7 separate regions of the Homo sapiens genome follow, and all the other regions are linked to region 1. Evidence: promoter capture Hi-C in 16 types of primary human blood cells and fetal thymus (Javierre and others, 2016). All regions are on one chromosome and are shown on one strand. The core of a region is centred on a gene start or on the middle of the fragment in contact, and the rest is flanking DNA. Distances in the headings are between cores, read along the strand shown.

The links. Contacts are between HindIII fragments. The CHiCAGO score rates a contact against its expected background, and 5 or more counts as called.
Region 2: a contact is called between a fragment that was not itself captured here and the fragment with the promoter of TSHR in region 1, in 12 of 17 cell types (fetal thymus, total B cells, non-activated CD4 T cells and 9 more). The highest score is 12.8, in fetal thymus.
Region 3: a fragment that was not itself captured here is called in contact with the fragment with the promoter of TSHR in region 1 in 3 of 17 cell types (monocytes, non-activated CD4 T cells and neutrophils); the score reaches 8.4 in monocytes.
Region 4: a fragment that was not itself captured here is called in contact with the fragment with the promoter of TSHR in region 1 in 2 of 17 cell types (neutrophils and monocytes); the score reaches 5.2 in neutrophils.
Region 5: a contact is called between a fragment that was not itself captured here and the fragment with the promoter of TSHR in region 1, in 1 of 17 cell types (fetal thymus). The highest score is 5.5, in fetal thymus.
Region 6: a fragment that was not itself captured here is called in contact with the fragment with the promoter of TSHR in region 1 in 2 of 17 cell types (total CD8 T cells and neutrophils); the score reaches 6.1 in total CD8 T cells.
Region 7: a contact is called between a fragment that was not itself captured here and the fragment with the promoter of TSHR in region 1, in 16 of 17 cell types (fetal thymus, non-activated CD4 T cells, activated CD4 T cells and 13 more). The highest score is 12.6, in fetal thymus.

The regions. Positions count from the first base shown.
Region 1 is chr14:80,954,181-80,957,408 of GRCh38, reverse strand. It overlaps TSHR (thyroid stimulating hormone receptor), which reads right to left and starts at 1,788. Exons shown (of 10, transcript NM_000369.5): 1 at 1,559-1,788. The coding sequence starts at 1,728. It also overlaps a transcript of CEP128 not described here. The HindIII fragment of the contact is 2,816 bases long and covers 170-2,985 here.
Region 2 is chr14:81,437,788-81,441,015 of GRCh38, reverse strand. No RefSeq gene overlaps it. Among named protein-coding and RNA genes, the nearest start is that of LINC02308, 11 kb to the left of the region's middle. The HindIII fragment of the contact is 5,276 bases long and covers 1-3,228 here.
Region 3 is chr14:81,415,481-81,418,708 of GRCh38, reverse strand. It overlaps a transcript of STON2 not described here. Among named protein-coding and RNA genes, the nearest start is that of STON2, 17 kb to the right of the region's middle. The HindIII fragment of the contact is 551 bases long and covers 1,221-1,771 here.
Region 4 is chr14:81,387,729-81,390,956 of GRCh38, reverse strand. The region is part of intron 3 of STON2 (stonin 2); the gene reads left to right. Among named protein-coding and RNA genes, the nearest start is that of STON2, 11 kb to the left of the region's middle. The HindIII fragment of the contact is 5,426 bases long and covers 1-3,228 here.
Region 5 is chr14:80,608,454-80,611,681 of GRCh38, reverse strand. The region is part of intron 19 of CEP128 (centrosomal protein 128); the gene reads left to right. Among named protein-coding and RNA genes, the nearest start is that of CEP128, 330 kb to the left of the region's middle. The HindIII fragment of the contact is 2,463 bases long and covers 463-2,925 here.
Region 6 is chr14:81,296,910-81,300,137 of GRCh38, reverse strand. The region is part of intron 5 of STON2 (stonin 2); the gene reads left to right. Among named protein-coding and RNA genes, the nearest start is that of GTF2A1-AS1, 77 kb to the right of the region's middle. The HindIII fragment of the contact is 3,420 bases long and covers 1-3,227 here.
Region 7 is chr14:81,264,411-81,267,638 of GRCh38, reverse strand. STON2 (stonin 2) reads left to right here. Exons shown (of 8, transcript NM_001394390.1): 8 at 1-3,228. Among named protein-coding and RNA genes, the nearest start is that of GTF2A1-AS1, 45 kb to the right of the region's middle. The HindIII fragment of the contact is 2,875 bases long and covers 254-3,128 here.

The DNA of each region.
Region 1 (3,228 bases), core at 539-3,038:
TTCCCTATGTTAGAGAAGCTTGTGTCCTGCTTGAGTGGGCATGCAAATAAATAACAAGTTACAAGAAAGTAGACAATGTCTAAGGGCTAGGGTTAGGTTCATGCAGAGAACGCTGTTGGGAAGGGGGGTATAGCTTACCCAGCCTGAAGGTCATGGGTCAGGAGAAGCTTCCTGCAGGGTTGATCCAGGATCTGGATCTGGGAGTAGGCATTAGCTGGGTGAAGAAATGGGTGAAATGTGCTTCAGGCAGAGGGGCCAGAAAGTGGGAAGAAAGGCAAGGGCAGCTGTAACAGCAGGGACCTTTGGGGAAGTGCCAGAAGTTCTCAGCAGGAGGGGGAAGTTAGAGAAATGAGGAGCAATGAGGTTGGAAAGACTTGACTAGGTCTTGAAAGATCTGGTAGGCTGCACAAAAGAATTTTATTCTAGAGGTGACAAGCAACCTATGTAGAGGTGTAATCAAGAGGCCATTACACCTTTTACACATCTTATTCTGTGGTGGCAGCATGGAGAATGACTACCACACTGTTTGGAGGTTATTGAACTAATTAATTCAGGTGTGCTAAGACACTAGGATATCTCTGAGCACAGAAATATATCTCTGTGCTCAAATATTCATCTACTGTTAAATAGTCTTCATGAGCTAAATTCTTGAGAAAATCTAGAGGTGCAACTTTCCCATTTCTTTTCATCTATCAACATTTTCTTTAATAACCTGCATTTTTTTTTATCTTAACTGGATTTAACCAGCCTAGGTTGTTTTACTGTCCTTTCTTTCTGTTCTCTTTTTAACTAATCAAGACAGACTTTATTCCCTTGGTTTTGTCTACAATTTCAATGATCACTGATTTAAATTGCTGTTAAGAAACAGGTTGTGTGTGTATAATCTTATTTAACATCAGGTTTCTAATCTGGTAACATTTAACATGCAGATAAATGTACTATACTTTTATGAAATTTCATTTCTTTATACCTCTATCACAAAGCAGGGTTCTGGACGTACTATTTCACTGGCAGTTCACATTTGAGTAAGTAACTTACAGATACTGTATAGACAGTTCATTTTAAAAAGGGCCCCTGCTTAAACCTTTGTCAACAATTTGATGAATCAGCAGAACTGCTAAGATAACCTCCCATCTAGAGAAACAAAAAGGAGAAATACATATTTTTGCAATTTTTTATTACCCAAGGTAAGATCAAAAAGGTCAGTTCCTGAGATGCCATTATCCTTATTAATTCAAATAAAACAGATTCAACCAGGGTTAGGCAAAGTGCTGAATAGCAGCTTGTTGGAAAGAACAGCTCTCACGGTCATTGTACACCAAAGTTTTGTAACATTTTCCTGTGTTGGGAATGAGGATGTCAACAATGATACCTTCCCAAGTGTGGGCGATTAAGTTTTTAGCACACACACACATCTACACACACAGACATTCACTCACACATACACACACTCACACACTACTTCGGGCTGTTATTGAGCTGCTTTTGTGCACTTCGGGCCACCTCTGCAGATGCCCTTGATCTCTGGGTCCTACCCTGATCTCTCCCGGGTACTCACAGAGTCTGCGTACTGGGCGGTAAGCTGGGGATGCGTTGAATATCCTTGCAGGTGACTCTGAAGTCCTCCTCCTGATGGCACTCGCAGGGTGGAGACGAACACCCCATTCCGCCCAGGTCCCTGGGCAGGTCGAGCAGCAGCACCAGCTGCAGCAAGTCCGCCGGCCTCATTTTCCACGGGACTCGGGGCTATTTCTCCATCCTCCGAAATCGCCTCATTCTCAGCTCTGCACCTCGGGTTACCCCAGGCCAAAGGAGACCCGGGAGCGGGAGGGGTGGGAAGAGGGAGGGCTCCAAGGGGCTGTGACCTCACCACTGTGGAGGAGGCTGGAGAAGGGGAAAAAGAGGCACTTAAGTGCTCCGCTTCCCTAGGCAACCTTGACCCAAACAAGTCTGCTTGCTTCACTTTCCTTGGCTGGACCCACGCAGTCCGCTCCGTCTGTTCCCTGACACCCAACACCAGTCCTGGCTGTCCCCTCTGTTTTCCAGCCCGCCCCCCCACCCCGGGCGCCCCTCCCATTAGTTCTCTCCAAAGCCTAGTTTAGATGCCCCCTCCTTTCCTCCTCTTTAAATCCAAGGAGCCACCTTCCCTAGCGTGTAGCCTTCTAGACACCCTGTCTGCCTGGGAGCCACTCGCACGCACTCCTTATCCAGAGAAAGTCCCCGCGGAGTGGACTGTCCGCGGGCGGACCAATGTCCTGCAGAACTTCAGCTCCTCCTGGCCAGAGACACCTCTGCTGAGGGTCAGAGGCGGGCACGCAGCCCTGGCTAGCCCGCGGTGCGGCCGAAGCCGTCGCCCTGCACCCCTGGAGGATTCTCGTTGCTATCCAACTGCAGGGGCCACTCCGGTGGTTGAGTCGACTGGCAGCGGCCGCCTCACGTTGCAGCCCGCGGCTCCGCGAGGCAATTCAGGAACTGAACTTTGGGGCCATCTGCTGGGAAGAATCGGGAATGGCAGAAATAATTCCAGGTTCCCTTAATAATGGGTCCAGTATGGAAATTCTGGTCGACCCAAGAATTTCATTGAGTCATATTCCCCCTGGAAGATGGGAAGAAAAATAATACTTAAGTGGCATACTCACCATTCTTCGCACAGTAGCCAAAAAGATCATTACAAACATAAATCAGATTGTGCCTATTTCCTTCTTAAAAGTCTTCAATCACTTATTCCTCTTGGGATAAAAGGAATGTCAATTCCTTCTATACTGCATAATTCCTTTTATATGAACTTGGCTAGGACAGGAAGGAAAAAGTTGTGGTTATGGGAATCAGAATAAAGGTTAGGAAAGATTGACTAGAAAAAGACAGGAGGGAACACACAGGGTTTCCATATCGTAATTAGGCTGGAGGTTAAGTGGATGTATACATTTATCAAAATTCATTAAACCGTACATTTAAAATATGTGTATTCCAAATTTTACAGAAGCTTTATTCATAACCACTAAACGAACCAAGTGTCTCGCGACTAGATAATGGATAAACAAACTCTGATACCTCCACATTGGAATACTATTCTGCAATAAAAATGAATGAACTGCTGATACAACATGCACAAATTTTCTTTTCTTTTTTTTTTTCTTTTGAAACGGAGTCTTGCTCCGTCGCCCAGGCTGGAGTGCAATGGCGCGATCTCGGCTCACTGCAACCTTTGCCTCCGAGGTTCAAGCAATT
Region 2 (3,228 bases), core at 519-3,018, 480 kb before region 1:
TTGGCTGTCATTGTCTACAATCCTTCCTGTTCCTAGCATGTTCCAAAAAATGCCTGGCCCACAAACATGTGTGGGGTGGAAGAAGTACTTTGCCATAAAGACAAAACTAAACCCTCTCTTATGGACTGAAGTTTATTAAGAGTTTATAGAGAGGAGAAGAGTGGGAGCTGTGAGATCTTATGAAGGGTTTCTAGTGGATACAGGGTTGATCTGGGTGTGAGACATAAAGACACAGATTTACCCACACCCATGACCACCAGTATTCTTCCAAACTGCCGACTAAAATGGCGCTAGTCCTCCAAGCCAGCAAGAGCTGCACTGCTGTATTGGTAGCCTCTAACCACATGTGGCTATTTAAATTTCAACACAATTTAAAATTCAGTTCTTCAAATTGCACTAATCACATTTCAAGTGTCCAATAGCCACACATGCCTAGTGGCTTCCATATTAAATAGCTCAGATAAAGAACATTTCCATCATCTCAGAACATTCAGTTGAAAAACGCAGATCTAAAGAGTACATCTTCTCTGGGATGCTGAAGGTGGGAGCCACATTTAACTGCTTTTCACAGGCTTGGAAAAGTTCCTTTTCACTTTTAGCTACTATACCGTAGGATTTAACCAACACGTCCATTACTGATGGTTTCCACACTTTCAGAATGTATGTATTCTCAGAGAGCATGCAGTGAATTTTCTTTAACAATTCAGTGGTTTTTAGCACATTCACAAAGTTGTATAACCATAACCACTAATTACAGAACATTTTCATCACCCCAAAAAGAAAGTTCATAGCCATTAAGCAGTCACTCCTCATTTCCCCTTGGCAACCACTAATCTGCTTTCTGTCTCTGTGGATTTGCCTATTCTGAATATTTCATGTAAATAGAATCATACAGTGTGTGGCCTTTTGTTTCGGGCTTCTTTCACATAGCATGATGTTTTCTAGAGTTATCCATATTTTGGCTTTTATCAGTACTTCATTTATTTTATGCCTGAATAATATTCCATTATGTGGATATACAGTAAGTTCTCACTTATTGTCATTGATAGGTTCTTGAAACGGCAACCTTTAAGCAAAACAATGTATAAAAACCCCCAATTTTCCCATAAGGGAATTGACATAAACAAGAATAAAGTTCCTCCAGCACATTTCTGGTCACAAAAACATCACCAAACTGCTAAATAAAGAGCAAAAATCCTTCTAATATTAAATTTGGAAATAAATGTGAGCTATATGTACACTTTTAAAAGATTAATAAAAACAAGTAAGATAATTATTTGCCCCATTACTCCAGTTCAAGGTCTCAGGTGATTGGAGCCCATCTGGCTGCTCAGCACGCCAACAGGGAACCAGTCCCAAACAGGACATCATTCCATCGCAAGCCTCTCTCTCTCTCTCTCTCTCAGACACACACACACACACACACACACACACACACACACACACACACATCACTCTCATTCTGGGACAATTTAGACATGCCAATGAACCTAATGTGCACATCTTTGGAATGCAAAAGGAAACTGGAGTACCTGGAGAAAACCCATGCAGATGTGGGGAGAACATGCAAACTTTCAGCTGGGAGTTGATCTTTTTTTTCTCATCAACATCCTAATGAAACAACGTTATTGGAGGACCTTCTGTGCTATTTAATACATTTTGTTTATCTATCATTAATCGACGGGCGTTTGGGTGGTTTCTACCTTCAGCTATTATGAATAATGATGCTACGAACATTTGTGCACAAGTTTTTGTGTAGGCATATGCTTTCAGTTCTCTTGGGTGTATATCAAGGAATGGAATTACTGGGTCATATGGTAACTCTATGTTTAACTTTTTGAGAAATAGCAAAACTGTCTTGTAAATTAACTGCACCACTTCACCTTGTGTTCATTTAAAGAAGAGCTTATTCTTCTCTTGGCCTGACAGTGCTTGACACACAGAAACTACCTATTATTGTTGGATTGGATGGATGATCGCTTTGCTCCACACCAAATATCCTTCCAGTCTGGAACTGAAGAATGCCCTGTTGAAGACCACGATAGGGTGTGGCCCTAGTCTCCTTAATACCACCCTATTAGCCTGTCAGGGGTTTTCATCAGTCACTTCATGTTTATTAAGTACCTACTTAATTGGGGATACACTGATTGAGGATACATCGCTAAGTAATGCACAGTGTGCTAGTTAGAAAGATGGCCATTTGAGCAGATCACTAGAATGCTGTTGCTTATTGATGTTATGGGAATATAAGACCGGCAAGAGGTTCACAGCTTAGCCTGGGAGAATGAGTGAAGGCTTCACAGAGGAAAGAATATTTGAGTTTTGAGCACTAAGCAGTAGTCACCAGGGAAGAAATGCGATACAGGGGGCGAACTAAATAAAGCATTTTGCTAGAGACAGAGAACAGACCAAGACATAAGCAGTTCCTGGCCTCAGTAAGATTCCAAGGTAATGGAAGTAGAATTCAGGTTCTTCTTTCACTTGTCACTCTTCCTTCATTTGCCATCCTTTCACTTGTCATCCCTGGGCTGAGTTTAATGTGATGTGATGAGGGTTGAGCAGTTTGACAAACCATCTTGGGTCAGCTTGGTTCTCTGGCTGAAACAGTCCTTCTTCTTTGGAGTGATAGTTTGACCAATCCAAATGGAACTTCTGCTTTGGCAGAAGCCACAGCTATGGAAAGCCAGCAACCTGAATTATGGGCTGATGTCTCCATGTGCTTCCGATGCTTGGAGAGGGATGCCCATGAAAGAACTCTCCTCACACAGTCCACACCACCCCGTGCTCTGTCTGGTGTTCCTCCCAGGTGAGGTTCAACCCATGCGTGTCCACCTATTCAATATAAAGTGAATCAACTGAGGCCCGGCGCGGTGGCTTACGCCTGTAATCCCAGCACTTTGGGAGGCCGGGGCGGGCCGATCACTTGAGGCCAGGAGTTTGAGACAGCCTGGCCAACATGGTGAAACCCCGTCTCTACTAAAAATACAAAAATTAGCCGGGCGTGGTGGCACGTGCCTGTAATCCCAGCTACTCAGGAGGCTGAGGCATGAGAATAGCTTGAACCCGGGAGGCAGAGGTTGCAGAGAGCCAAGATCGTGCCACTGCACTCCAGCCTGGGCGACAGAGCGAGACTCCGGCTAAAAAAAAAAAAAAAAAAAAAAAATTGAAGTGAATCAAGTGTTTGTCCATTGATATAAACTGGAGAAAACAGAGGTAATTTCCTCTTGG
Region 3 (3,228 bases), core at 247-2,746, 460 kb before region 1:
AATTTGTGGCAGAAAAGATCCCAGGAACTAGCCTCTTGCCCCTTACCTGAGGCAAGCTTCAATCTGTGCCAGGTAAACAGAAAAGTACTTCCTCCAGGGAAGCACATAATCAGGATTAACAATGTGTATGCTGGTAACTTTTTGCCTTTTTTTTACAAAGCTGTATTAAGAGTCGTTAAGCTTTAAACTGTAATCTGGGTTTATTATTAACTCCTTGCAATCAAGCTTCCAGTTCAGCTGTTCTACTTTATTCTACAAATGCTTGTCGCTTTCTGATACAGTTTGGCTGTGTCCCCACCCAAATCTCATCTTGAATTCCCACGTATTATAGGAGGGACTTGGTGGGAGGTCATTGAATCATGGGGACAGGTCTTTCCTGTGCTGTTCTCATGACAGTGAATAAGTCTCACAAGATCTGATGGTTTTATTAAGAGGAGTTCCCATGCACAGGCTCTCTCTCTTTGCCTGCTGCCATCCATGTAAGATGTGACTTGCTCCTCCTTCCCTTCTGCCATGATTGTGAGGCTTCCCCAGCCATGTGGAACTGTAAGTCCAGTTAAACCTTTTTCTTTTGTAAATTGCCCAGTCTTGGGTATGTCTTTATATGAAAATGGACTAATACACTTTCCTTCTGTGTAATGGCTCTGAACACTAGAAATGCTGCCAGGAAGGGTCCATCCCTCCAGAAGCTAAACTCTGCAAGCTTTCTCAAGTCACCAGCGACCACTCAAGGCCCTTTATGTCTCTCCTCAGCATTTGACACTAGAGAAAACTTCTTTTTCAAAATTCCCTCTTGCCATCATAGCCTGGAGCCCTCTGGTTTTTCTATCTCTCTCTCTGCCTGGCTCTGTCACCCGAGGGTCTAACTTCCCCCGTCCCAGCCCCACTCCCTTATGTAGGCATGCTCCAAGAGTCAGTCATCTTCTTCTATCTTTTTACTTCCCCTGTTGATAACCTATTCATTCCCTTGGCTGCATACTTTGTTTTTTCTTGGATGACTCTAAAATCTAACTTTTCACCCGTAATTTTTCTCTAGGCACCAAATCTACATTTTCACAGTCTTTGCATCTCAACATATCCCAAAAACGTATTTCCTATCCTGTCTCCAATTAATTGCACAGTTTAAGGGACCACTCCTAGTTTCCTTAGGGTATGTATTGAGGTCTTCTCTGCCCTTACCTCAGATACTATGGCACTACTATTCTCCTATCACCCAAGCTTAATTGTTATTTCCTATCACTGTTGTTTCTTCTATTCTGTTGAGTAAAGAACAAGACCAAGGATTCCTGTGGCTATAAGGTGTTTTCTCTACTTTCATCTTTTTGCCCAGTTAAGGTTTTCTCCTGAACATTCAACATTTCTTTGCTTTTCTACAGTGTGGATGGTGATGTGGGAGGGCCTGTGCTGTTGCAGAGCTGGGGGCCGGGGGCGGGGCGGTGAATAGCTCTAGGGGCAGCGTCAGATAAGAGAACGTGGTTTTTGTCGCATTGTGTGAATGGCACCTCCTGGAGTTGTGCAACACAGTGCTGTGGGAGTGTAAGCATGCAAGGGATGGAGTGTCAGTGAGTCCTTTTGGGATGCTAAAGACTTGAGTGGCAGGAACAAGTTGAGGGGAGTTGGCAGTTCAACCCACAAGGAAAGTTTGATTTTTACAAAAGAGGAAGGGGGAAATAGTTTTTCCTCTGCGTCATCTACCTGGGAAATAAAACCCTATGTTTTTCTAGACAGATCTGCATTGAGCTGACTTCATTGTAGAGCTACCCACCAAGCTTGAGATTTGTGGCCTGGAGCTCTGTTTTCCTCTAATCCTTGTTATTCTTGGTATAGAGAGTGTTGGCAGGAGCTTTAAACATAAAGGTTTTGTGTGCCTGCAGCTCTACTGATAAATTAGATAAAACCAGACCCTTATGTCACAACTGGACTCCCTTCGATATGGTTTTCCTATGGTCCAAAGAGGTTGGTCATAGCTTTGGTCACAGTGCTGCCTCCTGTTGACTGAAATGGCCCAGATGACTTGGCCACACCAGCAGTAGGACACCTTGGCTGACGATTATAGCAGCGGTGTCCTCTGTTCAGGGGCCTGTGGAGCACCCAGACAGGCAGGTTGCCACCTTCCACTGCACAGACTGTGTGGTACACACTCTTCGTGGGCATGGCTCACATAGATGACCATGGGAATGGGCCCTGAAGTTGTCCACTGTGTTGACCCTGCCTCCGGTACCTTCTCTCACTACTCATTTCTAGGCCAACTGATGCCTCGCATTGAGCCAGCTAGGCTCTTTCCTGTCTCAGGCTGAAGCTCACACCACTACTTCCTTTTTTTCCCGAAATTTCTAAGGTCTCCTCCTTCTTTGCACTTTCACTTCCTGAATGCCATGACCACAGGAATGAAATCAGCAAGTTCTTGTTCTCTCTCTTGACTAGGCTAACTCCTCCCAATCTTTATGGGTAGAAATAATAATGGTAATAGATAGCATTGACTGAGCGCTTATTATTCATGAAAAGGTTTACCTGCAGCATCTTACAGAATCTCTGAGGTAGATACTACTAGATGAAACTCAGGCGTAGAGCATTTCAGAGACAGAGATGTTCCATGGCTAGAGTTAACAACGGGGGACTTGGCCTGCTGCCCGAAGAGCTTGTGCTCTGAAGGGTATGCTAGGCATCCTCCTAAGACTCAGGTTAGATACAGCCTCTTCCAGGAAGCCTCCCCGGGCTCCCCACACCCTGCTTCTGACCTTTGGTCATGCTCCTTAGTAACCTGTGCTGTCATGCAAGCTCAGGGCCTCTCAGAGGTGGTGGAGAGAGACCTATGTTCCTTGCTTTTTCTGAGTTCTCAGAATATTAAAAACTGAAGAAGCTCCAAGACAGGATTAGAAAAATATTATGATTTTTTTGGATATATTTTCTTCTCTGATTGGACCAAATTAAAACCTTAAGTGTATAATCATATACATAGAAACCCACAATGTAATATAATTTTGCTATGTGCAAGGCAGCTATAGGAATTACAATAGATTTTTTTTTTTTTTTTTTTTTTGCGATGGAGTCTCACTCTGTTGCCAGGCTGGAGTGCAGTGGTGCGATCTTGGCTCACTGCCACCTCTGCCTCCTGGGTTCAAGTGATTCTCCTGCCTCAGCCTCCCGAGTAGCTGGGACTACAGGTGTGCACCACCACACCCATCTAATTTTTGTATTTTTAGTGTTATATCCCTAACATCTAGCAGA
Region 4 (3,228 bases), core at 239-2,738, 430 kb before region 1:
ATCTTAAAGATTTTAGTGATGAAGCCACAGCCAAGGAATGCCGGCAGCCACCAGAAGCTGCAAGATACAAGAAACAGATGCTTCCTTAAAGCCTCTGCGGGGAGTGCAGTTCTGCTGACATCTTGATTTTAGCACAGTGATTCTCATCTCAGACTCTGGCTTCCAGAACTGTGAGAGAATAAATTACTGTTGTTTTGAGATACCAAGTTTGTGGTAATTTGTTACAGCAGCCATAGGAAACTAATGTACTAAGTCTGTAAAATCTTAAAATGGAACCCTTTGCATAAGGCTGAGAATGAGTCAGTCTGAATTAGGGGAGCATCTGTAAATCTGTAATGATGCAGGACTTTTTGTTTGTTTGTTTGTTTGTTTGTTTTTTGTTTTGTTTTTTGAGACGGAGTCTCGCTCTGTTGCCCAGGCTCTGGAGTGCAGTGGCGCGATCCCAGCTCACGATGCAGGGTATTTCTTAAGGAGATGTGTGCATGTCAGTGTGCTTTGTCCCTAAACCTTACAGCTCCTTATAATTTACTCATTGAGTCACCAGATATTTACTAAGCACTTCCTCTGTATAGTTCTGCTAGGTGTGGATATTCAAAGACATAGCGCAGTGCTCAGAATTGAGCAGAAATCCACTGGGCTTCTTCCTGGATCCTCTAGTAGCAAACCAGAGCCAACCTGTGCTGCTGTGATTACCATCTCTTGCGGTTGTCTTTCAACCACTACTTGTCTTTCTGTTTTTAAGTTTTTCTTTTTTTTTTTTTTTGAAATGGAGTCTCACTCTGTCACTCAGGCTGGAGTCCAGTGGCGCAATCTCAGCTCACTGGGTTCAAGTGATTCTCCTGCTTCAGCCCCCAAATAGCTGGGATTACGGCGTGTGCCATCACATCCAGCTAATTTTTGTATTTTTAGTAGAGATGGGTTTCATTATGTTGGCCAGGCTGGTCACAAACTCCTGACCTCAAATGATCGGCCCACCTCGGCCTCCCAAAGTGCTGGGATTACAGGCATGAGCCACCATGCCTGGCCTACGTTTTTCATTTCATACAGCTGAGAATTTGAAACTGGCTCTGAGGAAGCAAAGGAATAAGTGGATGCTGGGAGAATTACTTGTCTGAGAAGTTCATTTTATGACAGGTGCATCTATTGTCTCTTCCTGTGAAGGATGAAAATCAGAATTTAAAGCAACTTCCCTTGTTAATTATCGTTTACTTCTGGGGCTTCCCCACAGCTCTTACTCAGTTTTATCCAGTTTTCCTCACTTGGAGAAAGTAGGCACTACTGACCTAGGAGAAACTTTTGTCTAAATTGGCCACCTAGCTGTGGGCCAAGTAGTGGCCAGTTTGCTGGCGGCTAGGTGACCAGCTTAGACAAAATGGCCCTCTCGTGCTTTTTGTCTAAACTGACCACATAGAAATGATTTGCCCATCAATTTCTCATTTATCCACTCTAAAATGCTTTTCTTAGTTCATTAATTTCCATCAGTCAGATGTTAGATCTATTTTGGGCTATAGCTTCACTCATGTAGACTGAGCAAACTCTTTTTAGCATGGATAACGCAAGAATGAAATGGAATTAGGGCAAGAGAGGTGTTTGGTGTGCTGTATTTAAATGCAAAAATTTGGAATCTTTGGTGAAGTTTGGAGTATGTAGGTGTGTCTCTGTGCGTGCAAGAAAAAAATTTCAGCCAGGAAAAAAAGGAACAGTGGAAACTAATTTTTGGCTTTAGCCCTTTTCCCAATCACATCAGCATCACTGGAGCAAACTGACTCTTTCCTATATATAATGTATAGTTGCAGTGTTTAATTTCTTCCCATTTTACTCTTCATATTCCATTTACTTCTATTAAGAGCCCATACTTTCTGATCGGATGTCTTCATGTTGGGAGAGATGTAAAAATGTTTATCTTGGTACCTGTCTTGTGCAACCCCTCTGTGGATGTTGTTTTGTGAGAAGGTCGTAAGAGAAAAAGGTGGTGGGAGGAGAAGGAGGAGGAGAAGTAGAACTGATCAGTGTTCTTCCTAGTTTTAATTTCTGGAAGAAAAAGTGAAACCTTACTTAGCCAGCTGTTTTATACCTGAACATCCTGGCTTGTAGAGAGAAGTTGGGAAAGAGACTAGCACACACACATAACACACACAGAGGAAGTAGCGAGGTTATCCGGGATATTCCTTTTCCATCCCCCAATTCCCTTTCTTCCACTCTTTGAAGTTTTTCTGGCAGATGAAGAGTAAAAATCAAAAGAATACATCTTTTAAACTGTGCCACCTAAGAATAAAGCCAAGCGAGCATTGGACTTCAGCCTGGAATTGGAATGTACTATTTGCCCTAATTAAAATGCAACAAGGCTGTAGGCACAGTGGAGTTAGGGACAAAGAGACTGTCATTAATGGTACGTCTCTTATTTTTGATGGTATTTAAATGGCTAGAAGCTGCACTGAGAACCTTAGAGAAGCCAGGGAGTTGTTAGTCCCCACCCTAGTGACCTGGCTGCTACTTATTTTATTGTGCACTGAAGCATACCAAGGTTGATTGGAAAACCAGGAGCAACAGCTGGTAGGAAAAACAACTCCAGAAATGCTTAAATCATCAAGGCAACAACTTTCTCTTGGACTTTAATTAGGGCAGGGTTTGAAGTGAATAAGTGCCATCACGGTTGGCCAGGGAAAAAAGGAGATATACAGTCTCCCTTAGAAACATATGATTAAAATTGGTCAGGTGCGGTGGCTCACGCCTGTAATCCCAGCACTTTGGGAGGCCAAGGCAGGCGGATCACAAGGTCAGGAGTTTGAGACCAGCCTGGCCAACATGGTGAAACGCCATCTCTACTAAAAATACAAAAATTAGCTGGGTGTGGTGGTGGGTGCCTGTAGTCTCAGCTACTTGGGAGGCTGAGGCAGGAGAATCGCTTGAACCTGGGAGGCGGAGGTTGCAGTGAGCCAAGATTGTGCCACTGCACTCCAGCCTGGGTGACAGAGTGAGACTCCATCTCAAAAAAAAAAAAAAAAAAGAAAAGAAATAAAAATATGATTAAAATAAAATGAGAGTGACAAAAGCCTTTTTTTTTTGAGACTGAGTCTCACTCTTGTCACCCAGGCTGGAGTGCAGTGGTGTGATCTCAGCTCACTGCAACCTCCGCTTCTGGGTTGAAGTGATTCTCCTGCCTCAGCGTCCTGAGTTACTGGGACTACAGGCACCCGCCACCATGCCTGGCTAATTTTTGTATTTTTA
Region 5 (3,228 bases), core at 445-2,944, 350 kb after region 1:
CTATAATTTTTAATCTTACTGATTTAAATTTAAGAAGATCTCTGTAGCTTTGACACTGCTATCCACATTCCTATACTGGAGGCTTACCCTTTTCTTTGGCTTGTGTGATGATACTCTCTAGAGTTCCCTCCTATCCTTTTCATCTCTTTTACTTTCAAATAGCCATAATCTAAGATTTGTGGTATTTACAATATTTTAACACATTTGTGTTAAATTGAATTATCTATGTAGTTCATTGAGGTATCTTGCTAGATTTTACTGCTGATTTCAAGTTGGCCATAATCTATAGTACATGAATTATTTTTTCTCATTCCAAACTCAAAATGACCTTAGATTTTTTTTAATCTCCTTTTTTTGTTATTTGATGCTGGTATCTAGTTTGCTTTTTTTTTTCTTTAATAATTCATGGCAATGTAAGGTTCTTAATATTTTCTCTTTAGTCTTTGAATGTTTAATAAAGCTTAATTGAATAATTTAAAACAAAAGTGAAAACTCCTTATCTTATAGTTTTTCAAACATAATAGGTTCTCAATAAATATGTTTTACCATTAATCCCAAGATTTAAAACTAAAATGATACTTTAAAAGATTTACTGAAAAATACATAGAACTCTCAGTTCTATTCCTTTGCTGCACTGTTGCATGCTCCTATTTTTATATGTATCCTTCCAGGCATAACTTATACATATATGAGTAAATAAGAATGCATTTTTTTCTATTCATTTTTACCTAGATGATGGCATACCACCCGCTGTTCAATATCTTACTTTTTACTTACCATTTCTTGGAGATTTCTCTATATTAATGTATAATGAACTTCCTCGTTCTTTTTTAATAACTATGTAGAAACTCCATCGTATGAATATAATTTATTTAACAAGTTTCCCTACTGATTTAAATTTAAGATGCCTTCAGTTTTTGCTGTAACACTGCAGTGAATAATAACATGCATAAGTCATTTTGCACTAGTGAAAGTATGGCTGTGGAATGAATTCCTAGAAGTAGAATTGGTAAGTCAAAGAGTACACGGATTGTTAATTTTGGTAGGGTTTGTGTAATGTTCTCCCATAAGGTACTGATTTATGCTCTTACTAAGAGTGAATGAAAATATGTTTTCCCATATAATACCAATATTGTGTTCATGCTTTTTACTTGATTGTTAAACCAAAGGTTTGATCCTCATATTATGTGTTAATATTTAAGGTTCAATATTGATGAAAATATCCCATGAATTATAGTTTTTAGTATTTATAAAACAGTACCACACTTAGCAATCTATGTCTCTTACTACATGATATGTTACTGTTTATACCTCTTCTAAGTTATCAAAACATAAAACAATGTTAAATTAGTGATAGTAGTAAATAATCAGACAGATGATAAAAACAGTAGCATTCCTAGATATATACTCAAACATATACAGAGCTTAGTTCCCAGTAAGATTTTATTTCAAATAAGTGGGGGAAAGATTGATAATTCTATAAATGGTTTTGACCAATAGACATTTATTTGGAAAAAAAGAGATAAAGTATGATTCATACTGCGCTGCTTTCAGCAGAATAAATTTCAGATGAAAGTTTTATATATTATTTTTAAAAATGGGTATATAACGTGCTACCATTTATTAAAGGGAGATGACTGTATGCATGCACACACACATAGCATAATCATAAACAAGTACACTGAGATGGAAATAAAATTTAGACAGTGGTAATAGAAGTTGACTCTTGAGGGTACCTGAGAGATGGGCAGTCAGTGTTGAGTACTGGAGAGTGAAGAATGTTTTTCACTGTGAACATTTTTTTTTCCAACTGTGTGATTTTTTTTTGACTCACATACATATATAATTTTAAAAAAAAAGAAATCAGTACTTGTATCTCATTTTAGTCCAAAAAAAATGAGTTCAGGTGTTTCCTTCTTATTGCATTCTTTCCAAACGGACTGATTTCTCCAAAAGATGGAGTGTTTTGCTATTTTTGCCTGCTGTTTACATTGAGGTTAACTCTGTTGGTTAGGGTGTACTGGTAATGACACCAATGACATGGGTTTTATTTCCATGTGGTTCAGTTAACTTTGGTTTTCCACTGCCACAGACTGCTCCAATAATTATGGCTAAAATGTGTTCTTGGCCCAAGGGAGACCTGATGAAGCAAAGTGCAAATCCATCACCATGTGGGAAAATGGACACCCAAATACCCAGTGGATGGGGGTGGGGGCCAGAGGGAACCATAATAATGGGATCCCTAAATTCACATCTTAATAATATAAAATTCCTTATATACATGCAGTGAACTTCAAGATATCTAACTTAATGTTTTGGTTTTAAAAGGTTCAAAGTCAGTCACAGACAAGGAAGCTCAGTTTATAGGCAAATCTTGAAATATTAACCAAGGTTACTTTTTGGAAAAAAAAAATGAGTCATGCCTAGCCCTTCCCAATTACATAATATTTACTTATCCAAATGCTTTTACTGAGTTTAAAATATCTCAGCTTTATATTTGAAATTACATATAACAAATATTTGATTATGTGGTTTATTGAAAATGAAAGCTCTACTGTAGAAATTTATAATCTTAGTCTTTGCAGTATCATTAGTATGTCTCTAATAGTCCCAAGTCATGGTTCAGAAATCTCTCAAATCTCAAAAAATGTAATATACTTCAATCTTCAATATACATTTTTAATATGCATTCCTATAGTCAATATTTATTAAGTGTTTACTGGTTCCAGGTACTGTGTTGAATAAGTGCAAAGAGATGCCTGGTGGTTCCCAAAGAGCTCTCAATTAATAGGGGAGGGAGATCAGGTAAATAAGAAAACCATTATTATTTTTAGAAATAATGTGACAGTGCTGTGTTAAAGCAAGGCACAGGGTACTGACTGTGAGAGCAATTACTAACAGTATCTAACCCCACGTGGGAAAGCTTTGCTGGATCCTGAAGGACAAGTAAGAGTTAGCCAGGGTAAACAGGGTAGGCAGGGCATTCCAGGCAGAAGAAACAGATGTAGATTTAGAGGTTCAAGAGAGCATGATACATTTAAGAGCTGCAAATAGTTTAGTGTGATCAGAATTTAGAATATGGAAAGGGATGGTGAAAGGTGAGACTGGAAAATTAAACAGAGTTGAATCCATGAGAAGCTTTTTGGGTCCTGCCGGGAATGTAGATTATAGTCTAAAAGCAATGGGAAATGATTGATTTTAAGCAAGACTAGCTTGGTGTTAGAGGAC
Region 6 (3,228 bases), core at 268-2,767, 340 kb before region 1:
CACTTCTACACTCTTCATTTTGTTCCATTAACTTATTTATCTTTCCTATGAGATTGTCTTAATTACTGAAACTTTATAGTCAATCTTGAAATTTGGTAGTTTTGAGTCCTACAACATTTTTCTTCTTTGAGATTGTCTTGGTGATTGATAGGCTTTGATAGAAATTGACCAACTATCAAAAAAATTTTTTTAAGCCTGGGAGTTTTTATTGGAATCATATTGATTCTATAGATCAATTTAAAAAAAAAAAAAATTTTTTTTCCATCTTAACAATTTTGAGTTTTCAAATCCATGAACATGAAATCTCTCCATTTATTTAGGCCTTCTTTAACTTCTCTCAACAGTGAAGAGGCCTTACACATCTTTTATTAAGTTTACTTCTATGTAGTTGATATTTTTATGCTATAGTAAACAATATTTTTAGAGGTCTTATTTCCAGTTGACTTGTTACTAGTATTTTAATATATAATTGAGTTTTTAAAGAATGACTTTGTATCCTGAGGACTTGCTGTATTCAGTTTTACAATTATTTTTACTTTTGTTAAGAAGGTTGATAAAGGAAAAACTGAAAACAGCAACAGCCCAAAATGCTCATAAGTTAGCCACAGGGCTCAACCTCTTTCTTTTACTTTTTATTCCTTTTTCTTGCCTTGTTGCAATGCCTAAGGACTCCATTACAACGCTGAATAGGTGAGACTGGGAGGAACACTTTCAATATTTCACCATTGTGATGTTAGCTGAGGGTTTTCTTTTTGTATATGCCCTTTATCAGGTTGAGGAAGTTCCCTTCCATTCTTAGTATGGTGATAATAGTATTACTATTACAGTTAATGTAAGTTAAATTTTACCATACTTTTTCTACCTTTATTGAGATAGTCTCACATATATGTTTGTATAACACGTTAATTCTGTGCATGTATGGGTAACTTCTGCAATATTCCTGGTGGATGCAGAAGAGTTGCCTAAGACAAGCCCAGGCATGTGGTTTAAAGTGACCACCATGATTCTAGTACCAAATACAGTTTGGTGTCACTTGATCTGAGCCATGTGGCTAGAACTTATGAGTGTTTTGGGCTGTTGCTATTTTCAGTTTTTCCTTTATCAACCTTCTTAACAAAACAGATGTCTCTTATTTTGGTGGTAGAGGTGGGACTTTGGGTACTTTTTATGTCGTTCTCTTGTCTGTATTTTCTAAATTTCTTTAGTGACATGGATGAATTGTGTTTTAAAAAGTTTTAAAATTCTATATAATTAATTAGATTACAGATTAATACACTTCAAACACATTTCTACCAAGTCTTTCTAAAATTATATCCAACTCACCTTGCTTGGATATGGGTGTTTCTTAAATCTCTGAGAGCAACATATTCACAAACCATTTCGTGGTGGGTGACTAAGGATTTCTCTGTTGATCCTTTAATCATTTAATTTTAGAAGGTGCTCATTTTTTCATCTGTCCCAACTTCAGTTTCCTGGATGAAACTCCTAGCATGGTTCTGTTCAACATGCTTTTCTGTAGTTTCTCTTCCTTGGGAACTTACCAGAGCAGGAAAATAAACACCAACAGATTGTGTGTGTCATGACAGAGGTATATAGATCAGGGATTTCAGCCGCGCTTGGGAATTTAATGACTTGCAACAGATGGAGTCTGAGTCCAGGGTGACTTTGCTCAGGGGTAATTCTTAGTAAGTTTGGCTTTTAAATTCTGTGATTCCCCCCCCCCATCTGAAGCAGTTGAGGCTTTAGAGGCCTGGAGCTAGAGGAAGCCTCCCTCAGACTAGTCTGTGGATGACAGCCCTAGGATGTGGAATAGGGATTGGAGATAGACTGTTATTTCCAGCTGCTGTGCTTTGTTTTTGTGGAACAGGAAGTCATTATCTGGAGATTCACAATTTCTTGATAGCTCATTTCTCCTTCCTGGAAGGGCACCCGCATCTAGAATAGGCTTCATCGCTGGAATTATAGAGCCCCCACAAGGAGCTCTATTTGACTCCTTTTTTTCTTTCTAATTACAGATTCCTGATAGAAGGAATGTTTTCTCCTCTTTCTCAGTACTTAATGTGCATGGCAATAAATATCAGTTATTATTATTTTTCTTTTGAGACAGAGTTTTGCTCTTGTTGCCCAGGCTGGAGTGCAATGGCGCCATCTTGGCTCACCACAACCTCTGCCTCCCAGGTTCAAGCGATTCTCCTGCCTCAGCCTCCCGAGTAGCTGGGAGTACAGGCATGCGCCCCAAACCCATCTAATTTTGTATTTTTAGTAGAAATGGGGTTTCTCCATGTTGGTCAGGCTGGTCTCAAACTCCTGACCTCAGGTGATCTGCCCGTCTCGGCCTCCCGAAGTGCTGGGATTACAGGCGTGAGCCACTGTGCCCAGCTGGCCAGTTATTTTTATTACTTTCTATTGATTATTAAAGTTAGAAAGTTTTATACTATACGAAGCAAAACAAACCTCAAACCTCAAAATGAATGAATAAGTGCTCCTTGTCATTTTTTACCAGTAATAATGAAAATAATTTAAATCATATAGCATGCCATATTTTACAGTAGCATTCACATGTCTTATTTGGTCCTCACAACCATATTGTGGGGCATAGGAAATATCATTATCCTCCTTAAAAGTGAGGAAACAGACTCAGAAATTGAGAAATTTGCTCAAGATTGGACAGTTCTAACAATGTAGAGCTACAGTCCAAATGCTGCAGTATACCAGAGTGGTTAAGACTAAGGGTTGCCAACTCAGACCTCTTGGGTTCAGATCCTAGCTCTTCCTCTTACTAGCTTTGTAACTTTGGCCATGTCACCTAACCTCTGTGCCTTAGTGTCCCCCCTTACTAAAATAGAGGTAATGGAGACTTACCTCATACAGATGTCTCCTAGATCAAATGAGATCATTTTGGTATAGCTCTAGACAGACCAGCTGGCATACAGTACCTGGTTGGTGAGGGTCAGCCAGGCCACTACTTGTCTTGGAGGCAGCGGTGGTAGATTTTTATCTTTCCGTCCTTCCAGCTACCTCTCCTGCCTTGAAACCTGAAGTCAACTCCAGGAGTCACCAAAGTGCCTGACACACTCCGGAAGTCCCCAAGGGCCCTGTAGGGTTAGAGAATCCAACCCCAAATTAAATACTTTAAAGAAAAACTCATACCATAAAGATCTTTTTCCTTGGTTCAGTTTTGCCAGGTGGCTGAAGATGGTATGTGCTTATTTCCTCTTACACAAGCTT
Region 7 (3,228 bases), core at 442-2,941, 310 kb before region 1:
ACATTAAATATAAGATGATGTTCAGTTCAAGAGGTAGATTCAATCTCAGTGAATTCCCAAATTCACACTGAAAAATACAGTCCACTTCTGATTCCTGAAACAAATATACATAATACCTGAGGCATTTGTAAGGGGCATTTGGGAGTTCTTTTTATACCTCATGACCAATAGACAGTTGCATGTCCCTTTAACCCAACTTTATAGGAAATTTAAGCTGCAAAGATAATTTTTAAAGCTGTTTTAAAATTAAGCTTGAATGAGCTTTCCCCCAAAATTCAGAGTTTGATAATCACAGTATTGGATTGGATTGAAAAGGCATCTCTAGGGTAGAGACGTGGAAAAGCCATATTTTTCTAATGTTGGGAACATTATATTCTGATTCCAAGAGTCAGAACGCTCACTCCATCTTCTTTTTCTTCATCTGTTTCTGGGACAATTAATCTTCTTTTCCTTCATCCGTTCCTACTCACCTCTGCTTCTTATTTGTATCTTAGTGTTTTCTCCCATGAAGAATACAAGTCGGGGGACAGAAAGCACACTTCATTGGATTTGTAGATGATGCAGAAATGAAAAATATCTCCAGTTTTTGGCTGATGGATTCAAGATTAATGTATTCAATGAACAATCATTGGAGTCTAAATGTGTATTGACACTGGGATATAGAAATAGTTACAGTATTTTGAAATATCTGAACTAAGACTGAAAGTAAAATGATGATTGAATAGGCATTAATGAGAAACCCTATATTCTGGGTTTTTAAAATGCAACCCTCTAAGTACAGAGTGGAGTGTGTGTTTGTGGATGTGTGTGTTTGTGTGTGTTTATGTGTGTGGTGTTGATGGGAACGGTGTTAGGAAGACCTGGTTTCACGGTAGTTTATAGAGAAATATTTCCTTACAGAAATGGAGGTTCAATGTTGAATCAGAAATATATCATGGCTATTCACAAAGCTAATGTAGTCAGCTGGTGTTAATAAAAGCCTTACATGCTTTTATTAACCCTCCATCTAGTCCATATCTAAATGGAGGGTTGAGTTCAATTATGGGTATCATATTTTAAGAGAGACATTAATAAGTTGATTGTGTCCATAGGGAGGTGACCAGGGTTGTAAAGGGTCTGATGATGCAAGAACAAGGGAGTAGCTTCCCTGAAGGAACAGAAGGTATAGCTGGAAAGGGAGTGCAGACAAGGAGGGAATGATACAATAGCTGCCTAGAAATTTCTATTGAGCTATGAAAAGGAAGAGGAATTAGATTTATTCTGTGTAGCTTCAAAGGGCAAAAATAAGAACAAAGAGGAACTTTACAGGTGACAAATGTTTGCTTCAATATAAGGAAGAATTGTCTAATAAGAGTTGTTCTAAAGAGGAATAGACTCAAGTTAGTAAGATTTCCTGTTCCTGTGAATGCCCAACAGTTAAAATAACCACCTATCCCACGTGCTGTGAAAGGGAATCTTACATTGGATTTGGTCTATATGTCTACCAAGATTCCTTCTAAATATAGGTTTAGTCTCAATAGTAATAAGACTCTCTAACTTCATTTGTCTTTTTCTTCATAAGTGGTTTTTCATGCTCTTTGAAATACAGTGGAGTTCCTTTGAGGTTTTTGTCAAGGAATTTCAACGCATATCTCTTCCCCTGTTGTACTGAAGGCTTTTGAGATTAATTCCTCATAGAACATCTAAATGGATTGGAGAGTTGGCAAGGGAAATGAAGCTCATCCCAGCACCTTCCTTAGTCACTCACGCTTAGCACTCTGTCAAGATCTCTGCCTCATCTGCTAGCATAACATGTGGATTGCTTGTTGGAGCTTATTTCCCCGCCCCCCATGGTAAATTCTCATTTCCTGTGTACATGCACCTGGACTTTTTTGTTTTTTTTACCAAGAGTTGGGAAAAATCCCTTCTATGCTATCTATATTCTGCAAACAAATTATTATTATTATTATTATTGAGACAGAGTATTATTATTATTATTATTATTATTATTACTGAGACAAAGTTTCGCTCTTGTCGCCCAGGCTGGAGTGCAATGGCGTGATCTCGGCTCATTGCAACCTCTGCCTCCCAAATCTCCTGCCTCAGCCTCCTGAGTAGCTGGGATTACAGGCGCCTGCCACCATGCACCACTAATTTATGTATTTTTAGTAGAGATGGGGTTTCACCATGTTGGCCAGGCTGGTCTCGAATGTCTGACCTCAGGTGATAAGCCTGCCTCAGTCTCCCAAAGCTCTGGGATTACAGGCGTGAGCCACCATGCTGGACCCACAAATTATTATTAATTTTTAAAAACCTAACATCTTAATTTCATCAAATTTGTTTTCCCTCTACTGTTTTTAGGAAACTGATTATGGGTAGCATTTAGGGGTTTGGGGATAATAATACTATATATTTTTAGACGTAATGAGTGTTTTACTAGGTTTAAATAACTTCTAAAGAAAATACAAGTGGGCAAATTAGCTATGTAATAACCTACATAGAAAACAGTTGGGCAAATTACCTGTGGATATGCAGATTCTACTTTTGCAACCCTGGACCTGGACTTTTTATTTTTTTTTTTTGTGGTCACAAATAATCTTTGTTATCAATAATGTGAAAATATTAAAAATGAATTCATTTTACCAGTACATAGTATTACTCTTAGAACATAAATTAGATATCACGTGGTATCAAGAGCTGTGCTTTCTTTTGAGTCTAGGGCCTGCTTTTTGACTTTACAGCAAAAAGATAAGAAATGTACTCATGACATGTCAGACAAGACAATGTGAGGCACTTTGTGGGGAGACCATTAGATGATCCCCCTTGCCTGCTCTTGCAGACATAGTACTAGTTATTCCTTATCAAAAGTTTGCATTTCATTCATATTAAATATTATCTGGACAGTTTCATTTTTTCTATTTGGCTCTTCCCTTACTGTGCCTTCCTGCATTATTGGCAGGGTTCATAATCCTTGAGAACATTGTTTGATTTAAAATATTTTTTATTTGAAATGAGACTGATTTCTATTCAAATCCAGTGGCTGGGAGTAAGAGTTTATTTCCCTAGAAACTTATGTTTCTGATAAATGGGATCCATGAAGGCAAGGACTATATATAATTTTTTGTGTTTCCAACACCTAGCACAAAGCTTGGAATATAATAGGGTTCAGCCACCTTAAATGCTTGCCAGGAGGGCAAACGTATACTCATGAAATAAAGGAAAATGAGTATGTATTCAATAAATGTTTGC